Linked DNA regions of Homo sapiens: region 1 is linked to region 2. The links are contacts of gene promoters, found by promoter capture Hi-C in human tissues and cell types (Jung and others, 2019). All regions are on one chromosome and are shown on one strand. The core of a region is centred on a gene start or on the middle of the fragment in contact, and the rest is flanking DNA. Distances in the headings are between cores, read along the strand shown. Region 1 has its middle 33 kb from the start of SSX2IP. Region 2 holds the start of TTLL7 (tubulin tyrosine ligase like 7).

The links. Contacts are between HindIII fragments. The study calls those that stand out against the background at their distance.
Region 1: a fragment that was not itself captured here is called in contact with the fragment with the promoter of TTLL7 in region 2 in 3 of the 25 tissues and cell types used here (mesenchymal stem cells, small bowel and stomach).

Annotation. Positions count from the first base shown.
Region 1 is chr1:84,721,728-84,726,133 of GRCh38, reverse strand. No RefSeq gene overlaps it. Among named protein-coding and RNA genes, the nearest start is that of SSX2IP, 33 kb to the right of the region's middle. The HindIII fragment of the contact is 5,423 bases long and covers 1-4,406 here.
Region 2 is chr1:83,997,209-84,001,754 of GRCh38, reverse strand. TTLL7 (tubulin tyrosine ligase like 7) reads left to right here and starts at 2,623. Exons shown (of 21, transcript NM_024686.6): 1 at 2,623-2,824. LOC124904205 (a long non-coding RNA gene) reads right to left here and starts at 2,467. Exons shown (of 2, transcript XR_007066195.1): 1 at 2,049-2,467. RefSeq lists silencers at 2,724-2,823, 2,834-2,963. The HindIII fragment of the contact is 6,127 bases long and covers 1-4,546 here.

The sequences.
Region 1 (4,406 bases), core at 878-3,377, 720 kb before region 2:
AGGCCTCAGGAAACTTACAATCATGGCAGAAGGTGAAGGGGAAGCAGGCACATCCTACATGGCTGGAGAAGGAGGAAGAGAGACAGAAGGGAAAGGTGAAGGTGCTACACACTTTTAAACAACCAGATCTCATGAGAACTCTCTCACTGTCACAAGAACAGCAAGGGGGAAGTCCATCCCCGTGATCCAATCACCTGCCACCAGGCCCCTCCTCCAACACTGGGGATTACAATTCAATGAGATTTGGGCGGGACACAAATCCAAACCATATCATATGGCCTCCACATGCCAAAGAAGGAGTAGGGTGAAGGGCAAAAACTTCCTAAACCTAAGCCCTTTAAAGAGCTTTCCAGAAGCCCTGATCAGCAGCACTGCTTGTAACCCTAGACTAAGGCTAAAACCCTGTACCATAGTCAGCCTTAGCTACAAGGGAAATGTAGTTGAGTACATTGTTACCTTGAACAAAATGGAGAATCTCTTAGTAATGAATAAAAGATACTACTAGGTATCTATAGAGCCTACTAGGTAGGCTGCTAGCAGTGTCTGCCACTCATAAGCTGGAGAACGATGAGATAGTTTCTCGGACTTGATTTGTCTGGTGTCCTTGTGCCCTCTGAGGATGGGGGAAGGGAATTAGCAAAAAAGAAAAGCTCCACTTTTGCCAATTCTCTGGTTACCTACCTTTGCACACGTCAGTCCTGAGAGGACTCTTTTGGGGCATGAAAGTTCACTCTAAACCAGAGGTGTCCGGTTTCTTGGCTTCCCTGTTCTACATTTGTAGAACACATAAAATAACACTAACAATAGCCGATTAGCTTTAAAAAAGTCACAAAAAAGTCTCATAATGTTTTAAGAAAGTTTACGAATTTGTGTTGGGCCACATTCAAAGCCATCCTGGGCCTCCTGTGGCTCACGGGCAATGAGTTGGACAAGCTTGCTCTAAGCCATCATTGCATGAGTTCTCCACCTTTTGCTTCAGGAGTGCCCAGCAGGAGATTGCTAGGAGTGAAATGCTGTAGAGTGGAGTGAGGTTCACCTCCTCGAATATAGGGTCAATATAGGGTCATTCTGGGGGACCCTTGAACTCTCCACATTTTTTTCTATCTTCATTTTAATAGTAATGTAAAAGGAAATTATTTTATGTACTGTATATAAATAAAACTTCTCTTTTCCCATAATAGCCACTTGATGCATACTTTAATCGATTTAGGGGTTACTTAAAGTATCTCTCGCTTGGATTTTGCAGGCACGCTCCTGGGGGTTGTAGGGGATGTAAAAGCGTCTGCACAGTACCGAAGTTGAGCAACCGGTTCCAGTGTCTTTAAGCAAGGACGTTTGGAAAGGATCTGATGTGCATTGCTGTTGCCTTTTGGCAGCACATACTGTGAGCAGTGTCCTAGGAGGTGATGCCGAAACGCCCAGCCCTGACGCTAAAGAGGAATTGATTTCTCAAAGTGCAGAGTCAACAGGTGCCGTAAGAGAACTGCTGACAGGAACAGGCCCTGGGACCGGGAATTTGGGAACCTGCTACCATTAACAGAGCTCTGCTGGGAGCGTCATCTGCTCCCAACGTCCGCTGTTGCAAAAGGGAACAGCCAGGGGGCGCAATTCTGCGATTCTGAGCTAAACACCCCAAGCGCAGTAGGTACAGCCAGGGTGGGTGGCAGGGAAACCACAGGGAGGTTAATGAGGGCTTGGACTGTGCTCTTAATTTATTCCTGAATTCTCAATACTTAGGCCACTGCCTTGGAACACGACAGCATCTTAATTTTTTTTTTTCAAGAAAGCAAAAAGAATGAACAAATGAATGAATTGAGACCAGACAAAAATGCTTACTATTTGAATTTTCGCACCATCTACCAGCCCATACCCCAGGTTTTTGCATGCTTAACTTCTTTTCTTCCTGCTATAGTGAATTTGATTTCTGCCTTTTCTTTCTCCACTCTCTCCACCCACTGAGGGGATTTCTGTTGTTGATGAACTTGTTCTTTGGACTTTTTTGGTGGAAAATAGTAAGAGAGGGATGAAATCGAGAGATTAGCTAGTAGGTGAGAAGGGGAGGGAGCTTGATTTATTGGTGCTTCGCTGGTACTTGTCTTAAGTGCAATTCCCTCCACTCTTCATGGACTGTCCCCACCTCCCTATCAGAATCCTCTGGGAACTCAATGCTGATTCCTTGGCCAAGCCTAGATCTCTCTGGGAGTTGCCCCACCTCTTGTCATATATTTGCATAGTAATAAATGATGAGTGCTGGAGTAAGAGCTTAAAAGCATAGAGATAATGTTGTGCTACAGGATAGAAGCCTTTTGAGGGTCAGTTTGAGGAGAGAGCCACTGGAGCCATGGTGGGGTGGGAGTAGTGGGAAGTGGCTTGAAGAAGTGTTAATGTATGTTAGGGTCCATTTAAGGTTCTTAGAGAAATTCCAAAAACAGTAGAATTCCCCCTGGCTGTGCTTCTTGAACACGCGGCTGTTAGGATACTGAGCCGTATTAACCTCTGGGTTTACAAGCCTTACACTTCTTACATTTCTTCTTTACATTTCTTGCACAGTAAGAAATGAAGGAACAAAAGGAATAAATGAATGATAATGTATCTGGTCGTCTCTTACATTCTAGTGAGTCACCCTCGACATAAGAAGAAAAGTGGAGACTGTTAGATTTATTTCCTGAGAGAGAGAATAATTTTCTAGTAGGTCACTGAACCCCGAGGAAGCCTAGAGCGCAAGAAACTTTGGGAGAGATTCAAGCCAGTGGCTACAATCTTGAATTACAACCCAGCCCTTCCTTCCAACAAAGGGTATGCATAGGGAAAGAGATATATCAAACTTTTTAGCCAAACTTTTAAAGAAAAGCTGAACAATAGAATGGCTAAAGTGAAAAAATACAAAAGGACACTTAAAAATATATATTTTTAAATTATGTCTTGAAACTTCCCTGCCAGGAACTTATTAATATCTCCTTCAACCTCCCTTCTCCCTTGTATTAGCGTTCTCCAGAGAAACAGAACCAATGAGCTGAAAAGAGAGAGACATTTATTTTAAGGAATTGCCTCACACAATCATGAATGTTGGCCAGATTTCATCCTGTAGGCCAGCAGGATGAAGACCCAGGGAAGAGTTGATGTTGCAATCTTGAGTCTGAAGGCAATCTGGAAGCAGAATTTCTTTTTCCTCGAGGGACTTCTGTCATTTCTCTTCAAAGCCTTCAAGTGATTAGATGAGGCTCACCACATTATGGAGCAAGCTGCTTTACTCAAAGTCTACTGGTTTAAATGTTAACCACATCTAAAAAAAATACTTTCGTAACAACATCTAGATTGGTATTTGACCAGAAAATTAGCCACCATATCTTATCCAAGCTGACAAAATTAACCGTCACACCCGATCCCTCCCAAAGCTTAATATAGTAACAATCAAAACAATAAATAACCACTGTTTCAATGAGGAATTATCAACCCCACAAAAACAGAGAGCCATGTGGTTATTTAATGGTGGCAAGAGAAGAGGGGATAATGGAGTATGAATTGGGGGAAGTAATTGTGATCAAATCCTGACTCTTGCTAGGAAAAGGGTATGACATAAAGAAGAGGAGCATGTTCTTGGCTCTTAAAATGAAGAGTTGGGAAATGCTGGTATAGAAGGAGAGCTGAATATTACCTTTGAACAGTCAAGGGGTAGACTAAAGTCAGCATTATTCAGGTTTGTGATCACCTAGCATCCTTTCACTCACTGTTTGTAGAATTTCCATACTGATTTCCTCTTCCTCAAATTATTCTTCCTTGCAGCTAGGGTACAGGCATGTGACCCTGATTCAGCCCTATCTGCTATGAAAGGAAAATAAATCTTGGGACCCCAAAATCACTAAGCCAAAGGGAAGAGTCAAGCTGGAACTGCTTAGGGCAAACCTGCCTCCCATTCTAACCCTAATAAAGATAGCTACTAAGATAAAAAAGCTACAGACCTCCCTCACAATTAGTTCACAAGGAACTTCCTTGCTGACAAAAGACAGACAGAACTCAAAAGTCATCCCTTCTGCTCACTGAGATAAACACATATCTGATTGCTTCCTTTGAAGAGGCTAATCAGAAACTCAAAAGAATGCAACCATTTGTCTCTTATCTACCTATGACCTGGAAGCCCCCTCCCCACTTCGATTTTCCCACCTTTCTGGTCTGAACCAATGTACATCTTACATATATTGATTGATGTCTCATGTCTCCCTAAAATGTGTAAAACCAAGCTGTGCCCCGACCTTGGGCACATGTTGTCAGGATCTCCTGAGGCTGTGTCATGGGCGCATTCTGAACCTTGGTAAATAAACTTCCTAAAATTGACTGAGACCTACCTCAGATATTTGGGGTTCACACTGTGCATACCTCTTATTTAGAAGTGAGTAAAATGAAATGTA
Region 2 (4,546 bases), core at 1,374-3,873:
GGCTCCTACTTAAGTTACCTTGACCTTGTATCGGCCACCAGTGTTCTTTATGAGAATATACCCTCACTGGGCAGATCAGTTCCTATCGCTGGCAAGGCTGTATGGAGGTCTATTTCAGGTTGGGTGAGAGAATGGCTCTCTTGCCAGCTCCATGCTGTCATTTGTCACCAGGCCTAAAGTAGTACTTCTTAGAACTTAAATTTCACAAAGTCATTTGTGGGGAAGATGATTATTTAGCTTCTGGCCCTAAGTTCTTTACACAGCAGGCTCAAAACCATTTGAGGACTCTGAGGAAAGCAGGGAATGCAGGCATCACACCATTCCTTCCACTTCTTTTGACAATTTCCCAAGGCTGCCAGCACAAAAATTCCCCTTTCTTCATTCAGAAACATATGTTCCAAGAGTGTCAACTTATACAAACAGATTGCTGCAGATGTCACTGGCCCATCCGCACCACAAATCATAAGGCTCTAAATTCCTTTCTATATCCCTATCATCTAACATCTGACATAAAGCACTAACTCAGAAGACGCCTCATCTACATGTGTTCTGTTCCTGTTGTTGCCTTTGAAAGTGAAACAACTGCACATGGAGAGAAGAATCACACATTTCTGAGCCTGAGGCCAGTCTGGCCACTGGGGACCCAATGCTCCTGCTCCTCGGCAACATGCAACTTTGGGGATTTCTGTTTTGCTGCTGCTGACGTGTGAATCTTTACAACAACCATTAACATAGTAACAATATCATATCATACAGAAACAATTTAATTTTATTCCTGATTTCTCAAAAAGCTTTCTTGAGGTGACGTTAAGTGTTGCTAATACCTCTGTTACTTAACATTTTTTTTGATAAGGTATATGAGGACCCATGATAATAGGTTTATTGAAAAATTCTTGCCCCTTCCTAGGAATGGAAGAATGATAACATGTAATGTAGTAATAGTGCATGCATAGTGTAAAGTGTAATACAGTGAAAATAATGATGTAAAGATGATTAACAAGAAGGCAGTGGAGAATTCCTCTTCAACCTCATGTGACCTTGACAGTGTATTGTGACGCTGATGTTCGGCTAGTTCTGGGTGAAGTCCAGCTTCTTCTTTCTGATCACTCTTCTTGCCTCAGGGTGATGCCTACCCTGGACACCTAACTGCCCCCTCTCCATTCTAAAACCCCTTCTCACAAAGGAAGGATAAACAGACTCACATTCAAGTTGCAATCACAGATGTGACACGGTTTAATGTATATCGTTCTCAGAGGCATTCTAGGGGAAAGGAACAAGTCAAAAACTCCAGGTGGCAATGTCTGCTCTGCCGCTTATGATCGTGAGACTAACCCAGCACGACAAACCCTGAGCCCAGTTTCTCACCAGTGTCCTTTATGAGAAGATGCCCTCACTGACCAGATCAGTTCCCAATGCTGGCAAGGCTGTATGGAGGTCTATTGCAGGTTACCAATCTCACAGGAGTTTTTAGAAGAATAAATGAAGAAATGAAAATGAGACTATTCTCAGCACAGTGGTCTATAGAAAGTGCTGAATTTATGTTGATTTACTCAACGAAGGACAAAACTTTAAATTGTGAAATTTTATATTTTTTGGGATGCACTTGGAGGGCCTTTTTTTTTCCTACCTTTAATCACATTTTATAGGTAGTTGCCAATTCTGTTCTATCTTTTCTTTTTTTCTACAGGGAAAACTGTACACTTGTCCTGATCTTCACCATGCTCTGAAATGAACCTGTGTGAACCCAGCGTGACAGAAGCAGGGACCACAAAAGTCTAAGGAATTCATGTGTTAGGACTTCTTCCAGTTCTATACAATTCATTTTATGAGAAGACATGATTGCCTTCCCGTTTTCAAGACACGCAACTCTAAAATGGTGAACAATGAACCTCGAATATTCTTTAATTTCTGCAACAATCTTCTGTAAATCTTTATCTCGAAATGGCTTCCTAAATCTACATTTTTTTACAACTGCCGTGGTTCAACATTTGCTTAGCAGGAACTCTAGGTCAGAGCTGTCCCTCAGCATCTACGGGATGGGGCCCCACCTGATTTTATTTCCTAACTTTCGAGCTGGCCTCAGATACCCGTTTATTCTTTGCTTCACAAAGATGCTTAGATAAAAGATCTGAAGACTCTCTTCAAAGATTCAAAAAGCTCCACTGTTTTGTGGGAAGATGTCTGTGGTCAGATAGGCAGGTGGATCGGGCGCCTAGGGCCCGGAGGTAGAAGGAGGTGGCCGGAGGCGCTCAGGCCAGCGCCTCTCGCATCTCTGAGGAGGGGCGCCGCCCAGGCGCTCGCGTTGCTAAGTCCTCTGTTTGCCGCGTTCTAAAGGAGCCCCGAGCGGGACCAAGGCAAACGGGGGGGGGGTGTGTGTGGCCCGGGAAAGCTCGAGCAGTGTCTTCAGTAAACCCCCAGAAGAGGCAGCGGCCCCTCCGTTGATCCCTCCTGTCCCCAGGACCTCCTGACTCCGAGGGGGCAGAGGATTCCCCGAGTCCTTTGTTCCTCCCAACCGTCGCCGCCCCCGGCGCCCGCGCCTCTCGGCACGTCGTGCACCCCCGGCCGCAGCAGGCGAATGGTCTGGCCCGTCGGTAGCCGCCACCCGCTTGGGCAGCGACAGCTGTTCCAGGCACTCCGCGTCGAGCACCGGAGTCCCGAGCCGTGGCTGCCACGGGCGGTGGGCGGGCGGAGGAGAGCACCGGACCACCAGTGCAGGCTGCCGAGTCGGGGCGGCCGCCCACGGGGAAGCTGCGAGGCGCGGGAGCACCTGGGGGACCGCTTGCAGCGGGGACGCGAGGACCCGGGCTGGGCTTTCCTCACCCGGGTGAGTACCTGCTGCCGCCATCCTCCCCCGACCCCCTTCCATGTCCCCACGTCCCCAAAGGCTCCGCCCTGGCCCTCTTTCCGGGCCCCCATCCCCGGACTGTCACTGCTCTGGGGACACCGTCCCCGCTGGGAGCCGCGGAACGGGGAGCTGCTGCGTTCGTGCAAATGATTCAGCACCATTCGTGCCCTGAGAGGTTTGGGCAGAATGGGGGAGGGAGAGGGCGGAGGGGACGGGGTCAGTTGCTGTGATCTCAGCTCAGTTTTTAGGCTCCAGATGGGAGACTCGGGCGGGCGGGGTCGGGTTGGGTGAACGAGGAGGCTCCCTGCTGGTTTATTCTGTAATTCCGTCGTTTTCCCACATCGTGGTATAAGCCTCCGCGAGTATGCGGGGCATTCTTGAAAGGGTATCAAAATGCCCTTTTCGCACATGCGAGTGAAGTCTAGGGCCCTTGTAGGTACCTCTCACTTTCTCCACATCTTGCTCTGTTGGATGCCTGACTCATGCCATCATCCACTTATATCACATCGCAGCGTTCCCTCGACTGATGTAAAAGATACCCTATGAAAGTTGCCTTGTATTCTGGGTGGGTTTGATTGATCCTGGCATAGAAAGAAAAGATTTAGGAGAGGTAGGAAATAATACCTTCATAGCCTAGGCACTTACTTTTATATATCGTATTTTATTAAATCATCATAATCCAGAACCAAATGTGGAAACTGAGGAGCAGGGAAGTTAAATTACATTCTCAAGGTCACAGAACAGGAATTCGAATATAGGTTTTCCTGACTCTATAGTCCATGGATTTTCCACTGTATTAATGGAGTGTGTCCAAGTGTACATATATATGCTCTATTAGATATTAAACATAGAATTAATTAATTGAGGAGTAATCTCAAACAACAGCAACAACAACCTGTAAACTTTCTGCATAAGGAATTATTGCTCCTTCAATATGAAAGAAAGATGCTTTGAATCATGTGAAAAATAATCTATTTTCTTAGAAAGCTTATGGCAAAAAATATGTGAACAACACTACATAGGAGAGTGAGGTCATAACAGGAGATGTTCAGCACATTTTTGGCAGTGATATTTGGTGGATGCTCAAGTGTTGGAGAAGTCGATTAAAAACGTAAGAAGAACTCTGGAAATCTTTTTCTGTCTTAAATGTTAGGGAGACATTTACAGTAATAATAGTTACTTAGTTCATGAGGTGTGCGACTGAACTGCACCCCACAATAGGGTGACAGGTGAACCCATACTAAGATAATGTTACTTGATTCATTACAACTCTGTGATATTGCATAACAGGTGATAACTCCATTTTACAGACTAAGGAACAAAATTCAGAGAAGGTTCAAGACCACTCAGTAAGCCATGGAATTTGGACAAGCCTTGACTCTTAGTCAGTTTAGAAATATGAGTGTTGTAGTAAAATGTAGTTCTTATATAGTGGGAAACTGAATTAGTTTGTTGTTACCCTGCCGTTAAGAGTCAACAATTATATTGACCTTCTATGCTCCTTCTGTAAAAATAATGGATGCTAGGTCTTTCTTCGCCCGTTGATGGGTCCTTTGACTTGCTTTCATTAGCGACTTACAGATTTTTTCTTAAGAAATGCATCTCTTGTTTATGTCTCAAGAGGCAGGTTGCTATAGTACAGATGCTCATTATCTCTAAATACTCACATAGTATTGATGGTAGGCAGGAACAGAGTCATCT